Linked DNA regions of Homo sapiens: all the other regions are linked to region 1. Evidence: promoter capture Hi-C in human tissues and cell types (Jung and others, 2019). All regions are on one chromosome and are shown on one strand. The core of a region is centred on a gene start or on the middle of the fragment in contact, and the rest is flanking DNA. Distances in the headings are between cores, read along the strand shown.

The links. Contacts are between HindIII fragments. The study calls those that stand out against the background at their distance.
Region 2: a contact is called between a fragment that was not itself captured here and the fragment with the promoter of ZSWIM7 in region 1, in 1 of the 25 tissues and cell types used here (heart right ventricle).
Region 3: a contact is called between a fragment that was not itself captured here and the fragment with the promoter of ZSWIM7 in region 1, in 1 of the 25 tissues and cell types used here (stomach).

Annotation. Positions count from the first base shown.
Region 1 is chr17:15,997,938-16,001,513 of GRCh38, reverse strand. ZSWIM7 (zinc finger SWIM-type containing 7) reads left to right here and starts at 1,810. Exons shown (of 5, transcript NM_001042697.2): 1 at 1,810-1,995. The coding sequence starts at 1,920. It overlaps TTC19 (tetratricopeptide repeat domain 19), which reads right to left and starts at 1,690. Exons shown (of 10, transcript NM_017775.4): 1 at 1,482-1,690; 2 at 1,269-1,396. The coding sequence starts at 1,665. RefSeq lists silencers at 1,337-1,726, 2,077-2,236 and an enhancer at 1,847-1,936. The HindIII fragment of the contact is 22,610 bases long and covers 1-3,576 here.
Region 2 is chr17:15,548,950-15,552,525 of GRCh38, reverse strand. The region is part of intron 2 of TVP23C-CDRT4 (TVP23C-CDRT4 readthrough); the gene reads left to right. The region is part of intron 3 of TVP23C (trans-golgi network vesicle protein 23 homolog C); the gene reads left to right. Among named protein-coding and RNA genes, the nearest start is that of TVP23C, 13 kb to the left of the region's middle. The HindIII fragment of the contact is 3,548 bases long and covers 174-3,576 here.
Region 3 is chr17:15,670,869-15,674,444 of GRCh38, reverse strand. The region is part of intron 6 of TRIM16 (tripartite motif containing 16); the gene reads left to right. Among named protein-coding and RNA genes, the nearest start is that of TRIM16, 12 kb to the left of the region's middle. The HindIII fragment of the contact is 3,095 bases long and covers 307-3,401 here.

The DNA.
Region 1 (3,576 bases), core at 561-3,060:
TAAATAGGACTTAGGGAAGCCTTCCAAGGAAGTGACAGCTAAACTGAGGTAGTAAGGATGAGAATGAGTCAACCAAATAAGGACCTGGGGAGAACAATGACTCAAACAGAGGGTAGAGAATGAGTGAAGTCCCTACAAGCTGAAGAGAATGGTTTTGAGGAAGAAATGCAAAGAAATAGATGTGAAGGGAGGATGGTGAGCCAGAGGATTACTGCCAAATGGGTGGGCAAGGTATATGCTGGTTTAGATCATGTGGGGTGTTGCAAGCCAAGGCAAGGAGTTTGTATTTTATCATAAATGCAGTGGGTAGCCATTCAGAGCTTTCTGACAAGGAGATGACATAATCCAATTTACTCTTTTTTTTTTTGGTCGCTTTGGTTTCTGCATGGAGAATAGATTGCAAGAGGCCAGGAGGCCAGGAAAGACTACTGGAGCATAGTTGGTGGCAATGATGGTTTGCACTAGGGTGACAGCAAGGGAGATAGACAAAAGGGGAAAGATTTGAGAAATATTTTGCATTTGTTGGCAACAGGACTTGTTGCTGGACTGTAAGTGTATTGGAAGGCAATGGTAAGGTACCACAAGTTTTAAGAATGACTATGAGGTTTTTAGGCTGAAAAACTGATGGTAGTAAAGAGATGGCGAAAGCGTATGTTGAGGAGGCATTAAAGATCGTTTAGTTTTGGGCATGTTAAATCTGAGAGGTAGGTATGGTCCTAAAGTGCAAATGGCATGTCAGTAGCACACTACAGAATGGAAATACAAATTTGGACGTTGTTGGCATCGAGTAGGTATTTAGCTCAATGGAAGAGATGAGATAACTTGGGAAAAGAGGAGGAAAAAAAAATAGAAAAGGATGTGGAGAAAAGGAAGAATTCAGGAGGAGAACCGAACCGCATAACCAACACTAAGTTGCCATTTTCAGGCCGCTATATACGTGCGAAATTATGTCATTTCAGATAGGCTGGTTAATTGATAAAACCACTACAAAACGTTCCCGATATTTCGTTTGCATAAAGCGTGATGCCTAGGGCGCCATCTCCATTTGCACTTGACACTGCAGAGGTTTTACTGCAGGCCTTAGAGTCGGAAAAGCCTGGATGGATTCCAATCCCCTCTCGGATGACCCACCTCATTCTCGGCAATTTTACCCGCGGAGCCTCCATCCACTCTTCGGCGAGGCGGAGAGAGTAATGCGCAGCAACGCCAAGACCCCGCTCACAAAGGCTACCGCGCTCGGCCGGGCGCAGGGCCCGGAGCCGCCTCACCTTGGCTCGCTTCAGCAGCTGGATGATCTCTGCCTCGGCCTCGTCCGCCCCGTCCTCGGCAGCGGCCCCGTCGGCTCCCTGCTGCTCCTCCTCCTCTGCCGCAGCGGGCCTCGAGAACCAGGCGAGCGCTGCGGGAAGGGGCTCTGAGGTCATCGGGCCCGGCCCGCGCCCCTGTCCCCGCCCGGCCGGCCCCGCCCGGCCCGCGCCCCTCACCTGCCAGCAGCGGCAGCAGGCCTGGGCCCCGGCCGTGCGGCGCGACTCGGGATGGCGGCACCTGCACCTCGGGCCCCGGACCTCCTGCCAGCCCCGGGAGCAGGCGCGCGGAGCAGCCCCGGCACCGCCGCCCCGCGGCCCGCAGGAAGCCTCGGCCCAGGCTCCAGCTCAGGAGCCGGAACATGCTCCCGCCGCGTCCTCTGCGCACTGCAGGCCAGACGCGCTCCTGGCCCCCGACCACGCGCCGAGCGCCCTCCGGATTGGCCGGGCCCTGACGACTGAGCAGGACATCCCTGCGTCCGCACGCGCGATGACGCGCCCCGACGTCACTCCGTCTCGCCCTGCCCCGGCGGGGGGTCAGGATCCTCCACAGGTAGGCGCAGTCAGCTGGAGCGTCGCGGCGGTCCGCCGGTCGTGGAGGGCGTGTCCTGCGGCGCGATGGCCGTAGTGTTGCCGGCGGTTGTGGAGGAGCTCCTGAGCGAGATGGCGGCGGCGGTGCAGGAGAGCGCGCGAAGTACGGGACCGAGGTCGTGTGTGGCTGCGCCATGGGCGCGGGCGGGGCATCCGGGCACCGCCGGGCCGGGAGGCAGGAGGCGGGGTGTCCGGGCCTGGCCCTGCCTTTTTTCCATGTGGTTCTCTAAACCTCTTGTTCGTAAAAAGACAAAAAAACAAAACAACAAAAAAGCGAAATTGGAACAAGTAAAAGTCAAATCGATTCAGCAAATATTTACGGTACAGCGCAGTTGCAGGAGCCCCTCCGTCGGAGCGAGTAGGCCAGTGGGGACCGAAGTGCTGAGAGCTGGCCGGGTCGCTGGGAGGGGTCCCCGCCCGGGGGTGGAAGGGACGGGAGCCTACAGTGAGTGATAGAAACGTGGAGTTCTTGATTATTTTACACGAAATTTTGAATTATTAAACTTCTTTTTCTCAAATTCTGATGTTAACATTAAAGTTAATGCTTCCATACACTTTAAAAAGTAGGCCCAGCGCAGTGGCTCACTCCCGTAATCCCAGCACTTTGGGAGGCCGAGGCAGTTGGATTACCTAAGGTCAGGAGTTCGAGACCAGCCTGGCCAACATGGTGAAACTTCGTCTCTACTAAAAATACAAAAAATTAGCTGGGCGTGGTGGCGGGCGCCTGTAATTCCAGCTACTCAGGAGGCTGAGGCAGGAGAATCGCTTGAACCCGGGAGGCGGAGGTTGCCGTGAGCCGAGATCGCGCCATTGCACTCCAGCCTGGGCAACAAGAGCGAAATTCCATCTCAAAAAAAAAAAAAAAAGCATTTTAAGAGCCACAAAACCTAAATGCATATGCAATCGTTGGAGTAAATCTGGGTATTGTGAAAGCACCATTTTTTTTCTGACCAGCAGAGGGTACTCTTTGGCTATGCTCACCAAAATCACTTGAGAAGGGTTGATCTCAAGATGTGTTCAGAGTATGCTAGGATAAGATCAAATCAAATTTGATATACTCAAAATGCATTGACTAATGAACTACTCTTAGGATGTAAAAATGGCCACCTTATAAATAACAGCCATATCAGGCCCCCAAACTGCCATCGCTTATTCAACTTGGATGGCTTTTGTTTTAAAAGTACTGTACTGCATTTTGAAAGGGTTTATCTTGAGTTACTGTTTTTAAGGAACTGAGAAAAATAAGCCAACTTTGTTTCCTCATCTCAGTCAAAATTAAGGAGACTTAAGTATATGTGCTTGAAAGATTAGTGCAGCCAAGTATTCAAACATACTTGTTTCCAAAAAGGATGGGAAAAAAGCCAACTGATGTTAGCTTATACAATTGTTCTGGGCTCTCAGATTTGATGGCCTGAGGGTTTGGAATGCTGTCACTTTAAACAATAATCGCCAGAACTGTTCTGTGTCTGAATAGGTTAATCCATACACTGACAGTAGTTTGGGTTGGTTTGTTTTTTTTTTTTAGACAGAGTCTTGCTCTGTCTCCCAGGCTGGAGTGCAATGGGCGATCTCAGCTCAGTGCAACCTCCGCTTCCCAAGTTCAAGTGATTCTCCTGCCTCAGCCTCCCAAGTAGCTGTGACTACAGGCGCATGCCACCACACCCGGCTAATTTGTGTATTTTTA
Region 2 (3,576 bases), core at 698-3,197, 450 kb after region 1:
ATTTTTAGTACAGACGGGGTTTCTCCATGTTGGTCAGGCTGGTCTCGAACTTCTGACGTCAAGTGATCTGCCCGCCTCAGCCTCCCAAAGTGCTGGGATTACAGGCGTGAGCCACTGCGCCTGGCCATCTTTTAATTCTTAAAGATATCTGAAGTGGTTGGCTTGGTGATGGCCAGTTTCCGTAGGCCGCATAATGCTGAGAAGGAAGATTTCAAAGGTCTGTTTTCTTTAGGTTTTTCTTTTGTCCAGTCTTCTTTGGCTTGCATTTCTTTGAATTTCTTCTGTTACTTTATGCTCCAAAGTATTTAGTACATACTGCTCACAGTTTTGATACACGTTTCTTTTTGTTGTTCATAAAATTTCTGTTTAGCCAAATAGAACATGCTTTCCAGTCAGTTCTTCCTGGTAATTTCCAAATTCTTAAAATTTTTCTGGGTTTAGAGTTTTAAAAAATGCGATCAAAATAGTTTATTTTCTGATAAGGTTTATTTGTTTGTTTATTTTTGTTTTTAAACAAGAGCTTAAAAAATGGCACCCTTTTATCCTTGGCAAAATTACTTATAGATAGCAAAACAATGGAGATATGAAGCAAAATTAAGAAGTCAAGAATAGGGAAATTATTAAGTGGACTTGGGATAAGCAGGGTTCTGAAACAGTTAAAATGGAGATGTGTCGTAATTGTTATAAATCTCAATGTACTTACTAAAAAAACAAAAAATCAATCTTCATCTAAACCCCTGGGTGTCCAATCTTTTGGTTTCCCTGGGCCACAGTGGAAGAAAGAATTATCTTGGGCCACACATAAAATACACTAACATTAGCTGATGAGCTTAAAAAAAAAATCGCACACAAAAAAATCTCATAATGTTTTAAGAAAGTTTACGAATTTCTCTTGGGCCGCATTCAAAGCTGTCCTGGGCAGCATGAGGCCTGTGGGCAGAGGGTTGGATAGGCTTGCCCTAGGTGATGTTAATGAAGATAAAGAAGAGGTAGAGAAGGGAAAATAATTTAAAGGTATGCTTAAATGCTAAAGCTTATATTGGTTTTTATTTTATTCTTCACTCTGACAAATTGAGTAAAAAAGGTTAAATAATGGCTTTAAAAATTTAATGGCAACTATGGCTGGGCGCGGTGGCTCATGCCTATAATCCCAGCACTTTGGGAGGCTGAGGCGGGTGGATCATGAGGTCAGGAGATCGAGACCATCCTGGCTAACATGGTGAAACCCCATCTCTGCTAAAAAAAAAAAAAAAAAAAAAATGAGCCGGGCATGGTGGCAGGCGCCTGTAGTCCCAGCTATTCAGGAGGCTGAGGCAGGAGGCGGAGCTTGGCAGTGAGCCGAGATCGCGCCACTGCACTCTAGCCTGGGCAACAGAGCAAGACTCCATCTCAAAAAAAAAAAACAATAATGGCAACTATTAGTAAAATTTAAAACCAGTCGTGTATCTTCTGCAACATTGGAGAAGATGGAGCAAGTAAAACAGTTCATAGAGCAAAAGAAGGAAAACAAAGCAACTGTCAAGGAAGCTTAAATCAGAGAGTACATGTATAAAGTGATGTAAGTAATAGCAAATTCATTATAATAGGAAATGTAATTTGATTAAACTACCCATTTAAAGACAAGAATACTAAGATTGGTCAGAAATCAAAGTCCAAACAAAAGATCTAACCAAATTAATGACATTAGAAAAAACAAAAGAAGGCAAAGATAACATCAGGCAAAAATAAAAGAAGGCAAAGATCAACTCAAACAAAAAGAAACTTGGCATTGTATTATTATCAGATGAGATATGGATCAGAGTAAGAAAGCACTAAGAGGAACAAAAAAAGGTGATTTTATGAATCACAGTGAAGATCATTCACAGAGTAAAATTATATCAAACTATGTATAGTAAAAAAATTGGAAATATTAGAAAATAGAAAAGCATTATGATGAGTTTAACAAACTACTATCTTAAACAAACCAAAGTGCCAAAAAATAAATAAGTTCTGAAGGATCTGAATGAAATAATTGGCAACATCAATTTGATAGCAGTATTTGGGACTTTGTATGACAGAGAGAATACTTTCTTGTTAAATGCCTGTGGAACATTTACAAAAATTGACTAAATATCACTGTGAAGAAAATCAAAATAAAATTGCCCAAAGCACCTACATTTTCTACTCCAAAGAAACAGAACTAGAAATTAATAGAAAGTAGTTGTTGAAATTGGAATTCTTTTAAAAAAGCGAACTACTACATATCTTGGGTTTAAAAGGAAGCAAAAACTGTAAATATAAGTTATTTATACCTTAATGGTGATCATTTACAGTTAAACTTTCTGAATATGTCAAAAACTGAATTCAGAGGGAAAATAATAGACTAAAGCCTTTTATTTTAGACAAGAAAGAGGGAAAATAATGGACTACTTGAGTCCAGAAATTTCAAAAACAAGCAATAAGTGTGAGAAATCAGGAAAATAAACTAATAAAGATAAAAGCAGGAAATAAAGAGTTAGAAAATGGAAACAGAAGAGTTTGAAAGTATTCTGAGAGCATTCTTTGAAAATACCTATAGAAGAGACCTCTGGTTTAGGTCTCCCTTGCCAGCTCTTTTTTTTTTTTACTTAGCATCTCTCCCATAGGAATTTTGGTCTCATAAGACTCTTCCTTTTCTTCTCCTGTATTCCCTTCCTAAGGAGTGCTGTCTGTGCTTCTGGTTTGAATTGCTGATCTGTAAGCTGTGTTGCCTCCCAGATCTGTATCTCCATTCAGGTTTGTCCTCACAACTTAAGGCCTCTCCATGTGTCTTCTTGACGTTTTTATGTGGCTGTCTTGAAGGCATCTCAAATCTTTTTTTTTTTTTTGAGACAAAATCTTGCTTTGTCACGCAAGCTGGAATGCAGTGGTGTGATCTTGGCTCACTGCAACCTCTGCCTCCCGGGGTTCAAGTGATTCTCCTGCCTCACCCTCCTAGATAGCTGAGACTACAGGCATGCACCACCATCCCTAGCGAATTTTTGTATTTTTAGTAGAGGCAGGGTTTCACTATGTTAGCCAGGCTGGTCTTGAACCCAAGTGAGCCACCATGCCTGGCCAGGCATCTTATATCTTAACATGTGTAAAATACTACTTGTCATCTTCCACTCCCCAAAAGCTCTTCTTCTTTGAGTGTTCCCTTTCGTGGGGCCTGGAATCACTATTTTTTTACTTGAGCAAACCGTAAATGTATCAGTTGCCTCCTTCCTACTCCATATCCAATTAATGACCAAGTCCCATAAATCCATAGATTGTACTTTCTTCATTAGGGCATCAGTGCCTGCTGCTCTATCTGGAATGCTCTTCTTCCTCCCACATCACCTTCATACAGGGATTCCTAATCTTTTTATGCCATGGGCCCCTTTCATAAACTCATGAATAAGTTTTCACATATATAAAATACATAAGATTTCAAAGGAAGTCACTTATATTGAAATATAATTTAAAAATATTAAAAAAGTAAATTTCTGATTGAGTTATATGTGTAGTAGTTCCCCCATTATCTGAGGTTTCGCTTTCTGCGGTTTCAGTACTGCTATATGCTACGCTAAACAGTAA
Region 3 (3,576 bases), core at 605-3,104, 330 kb after region 1:
ACATCTACCTTTTCAGAAATCTTTTTTCACTTATCTCAAAATAGCTCTTTAATGTTATTGTGTCTTTTTTTTTTTTGAGACGGAGTCTTGCTCTGTCACCAGGCTGGAGTGCAATGGCATGATCTCAGCTCACTGTGACCTCCGCCTCCCAGGTTCAAGTGATTCTCCTGCCTCAGCCTCCCAAGTAGCTGGGACTACAGGTGCCCGTCACCATGCCCGGCTAATTTTTGTATTTTTTGTAGAGACAGGGTTTCACCATGTTGGCCAGGATGGTCTCAATCTCTTGACCTCATGATCCGCCCGTCTCAGCCTCCCAAAGTGCTGGGATTACAGGCGTGAGCCACCGCGCCCGGCCTATTGTGTCTTCTGTTGATGAGGAATCTATTTTGCTTTTTCCATCTCCCCTTTCTTAGAATTTTCTTTTTTTTCCCCTTCCTTAAGGCTGAAATTATAACTATCAGTTCTCAGAAAGTAAGAACCGTTTACCTTGGAAACTGTCAGCCTTACATAGTAACTATTATGCAATCCCAACAGAAGAGTTAGGGAAGATTGAGTCAACACTTTTAGAAAACATTTTTAAAAAAATGGTCATATGAATTTGTATCAGACTATCACCAGATTAAGTTACTTGAGGCTGCCTGATGAAAATTTCTGTATATGGCTCTAAGAAATTTTATGTGTACCTAATAAAGCCAGGCATTATTTTTTGGTTATGCTGTGACTCAACACTTACATGCAAACTTTTTTTTTTCTTTCAAATCTTCCTAAGCTTAAATTGATGTTAGAGTAACTTTTTTGGTTTCCATGAATTATTTTCCCTGCCTTTTTTTTTTCTTCCTGTTTTAGATGCATTTCAGTTACCTGAGAGTAATCCAATTGTATAGGATTGGAGTCCCTTGACTTTCCCATATCATTCCCAGTGTACTAGCCAGAACCTGAGATTTCCCTGCTTTCTATTTTTCTCACTAAAAGGGCTATTCTGAACTCTCTCTCCTCACCTGCTTTCCTATCCTTCTCTTCTGTTTAAAGAAGTCGGTGTTAGTACAGCTTGAAATTTAACAGGGCTTGAATTACAGAAGGCACAACTGAAGTTAGAGAAGAAAGGATTTTTGTTCTGAAAATTAGCGGTGAGACAGACCACTCTGAATAAACGGTGATATCTGGAAATAATTTTTGAAATGCCCAAAATCCTTCGTAACTTTAAGAAATTGAAAAGGGGTGGGGAGGGTCGTCTATAAGAGTGTCTGTCATTAGAATAAGACTTCTTAAAGTAATGTTTGTTAACAATTGGTAACAAGGTCATTTCCAAACATAGTTCCTGGAGCCAGTTGGCTTTGGATTGGTAGAAACCATTGTTGTTCCTTCAGAGTCCTCATCTTTGGTAATTTATTTTAGAACTAAAGACTGAAGACAGATGTCCTTGAACAAAAGGTCTGTCCTAGAATGGGTGGATTGCATGAATTCGTGGATTGTACTATAGTGAATTGGTATAATTCTCTTGTAGCCTAAATATAATTTGGATCCAGAAATATTAAAATTTTGAGGACATTATAGTGATGAAATATTTGAAATCAGAACAGTTCTAGAAATATTATGACTCTGGGACTTACAGAGCCTTTTTTGTTTTGTTTCAGTTTACTCTGACTGTACTGTTAGTAGTATGGTCTATGCTTGTGCTCTCCTCTCAGATTAGTTTGTTTGTTTGTTTGTTTGAGACAGGGTTTTGCTCTATTGCCTGGGCTGGAGTGCAGTGACGCCATCACAGCTCACTGCAGCCTTGAACTCTCAGGATCCTTGATCCTCCCACCTCAGCCTCCCGAGTAGCTGGGACCACAGGCAAGCGTCACCACACCCGGCTAATTTGTTTGTATTTTTTGTAGATGGTGTTTTGCCATATAGCCCAGACTGGTCTTGAACTCTTGAGCTCAAGCAGTCTGCCCACCTTAGCTTCCTGAAGTGCTGGCATTACTGGCATGAGCCGCCACGCCCAGCATTTGGATATTTCTATAACAGGGTTCTCTTTCGTGGGCTGTAGTGTAGACCACACTTACCCTTCATGATGGAGAATATAATTCCTCTCCTTTTACAACCTAAGCTAAAGCTCAGTGTGTTTGTTTGGTTGTGGTAAAGTCTGGGGTGGGGGTTTGATTTGGGGCTTTAGATAGTAAATGTTCTGATATTTTGATCTCTTTTTGGTAGGTAATCTGGATTCTTTAGTTTTTAAATCATGAGTGTCTAATTTTCTAACTTATATGTTAAAATTGCCTGTATGCTTGGCTGATATGTGTCCAATGAAGGGAAAATTAATTTATATGTTAAATTAATTCCTCCAAGCAAATTATCCTGAATAATTTGCACTGTTGTGATAAACTAACTAGGGTGACCCCAGGCTTGATTTGAGGATTGCAGGAAGAGATATTTAGTGATTAAAGTAGGGCTTTCTGTCTTTTCGGAGGAGGCATTAATACTTTTTAGGTTTTCTTTAAGTTAAGAGGCAGTTGTCACGTTATCACTCTTTTCATTTTGCAAGTTAGTCTCCTTTAGGACCCAGCTTAAGGTATTACCTCCACCCTCACCTCTTGGCCACTGTAACTGAAAATAATCTCCTCCTCTGAATACCAGTGCTGCTTACTTACTATTTATATCACTCACATATGCCTATGAAACATGACAATTTTGGTTTGATACTAATATCCGGCCTTATTCTCAATCTTAACATCATCAGGGATCATGATTTTAACATCATTATCATCATGATGAGGGAAACCTATCTTTGTTTAGGGCTTTCGTTGCTGATTTTACACAAAATAATACTTGCATACGGTTAAAAAAATCACGTGAAATAGAGTTTTTCAATGAAAAGTCATTCTTCTAGGAACTTTGACCTGTTAGATATATATCGTATATTTGATGACTGCTGGGTATGTTTTGCCAAGAGTCATCTATGCAAAATACAGTGGCTTGAGATAAACATCTCAGGAAAAATCATCTCATACTTATATTTTACTTAACAAGAATTCACCCATATGCACCAAGATATCCCCCCAAACCAAAAGATAAATTAGTGTAATTAAGAATACTATAAAATTATGTTTTGCACACCTATATAAAATTCTATATTTATCTATTCATGAGTTATTATCAGAGCTATACACAAAACTAGGTGTATTTTATGGGCAAATTCAAGGATTTATAAAGACAATATTGGTATTGCCCTGTTTTCATCTTACATGCTGACTACAGAAGTAACCTTGTGTAAGAGCACGACTTCAGTGAATCTAGAGGCCCAGTCAGTTCATTCGTGTGCTAGTTTATTCCTCTTCCTGAGTGTTTTTCCTTGGTTTGCCAAAGTTGACTGTATCAGAAGATATGCCAATTTATCCTAGTAGGAAGATTGCTAGGATACAGCAACACGGTGAATAAAGAAGCACTTCAGATTAATCCAAGTCCAAAAAAACTCCACGTAACCTTAATCAGCTTCATATATTAGTCCTGGAATAAATGTGACTATAGTGAAAGTGGGAAGACATTAGACAATATTCATTTGTATATTATTGATATCAGATGATGCACACT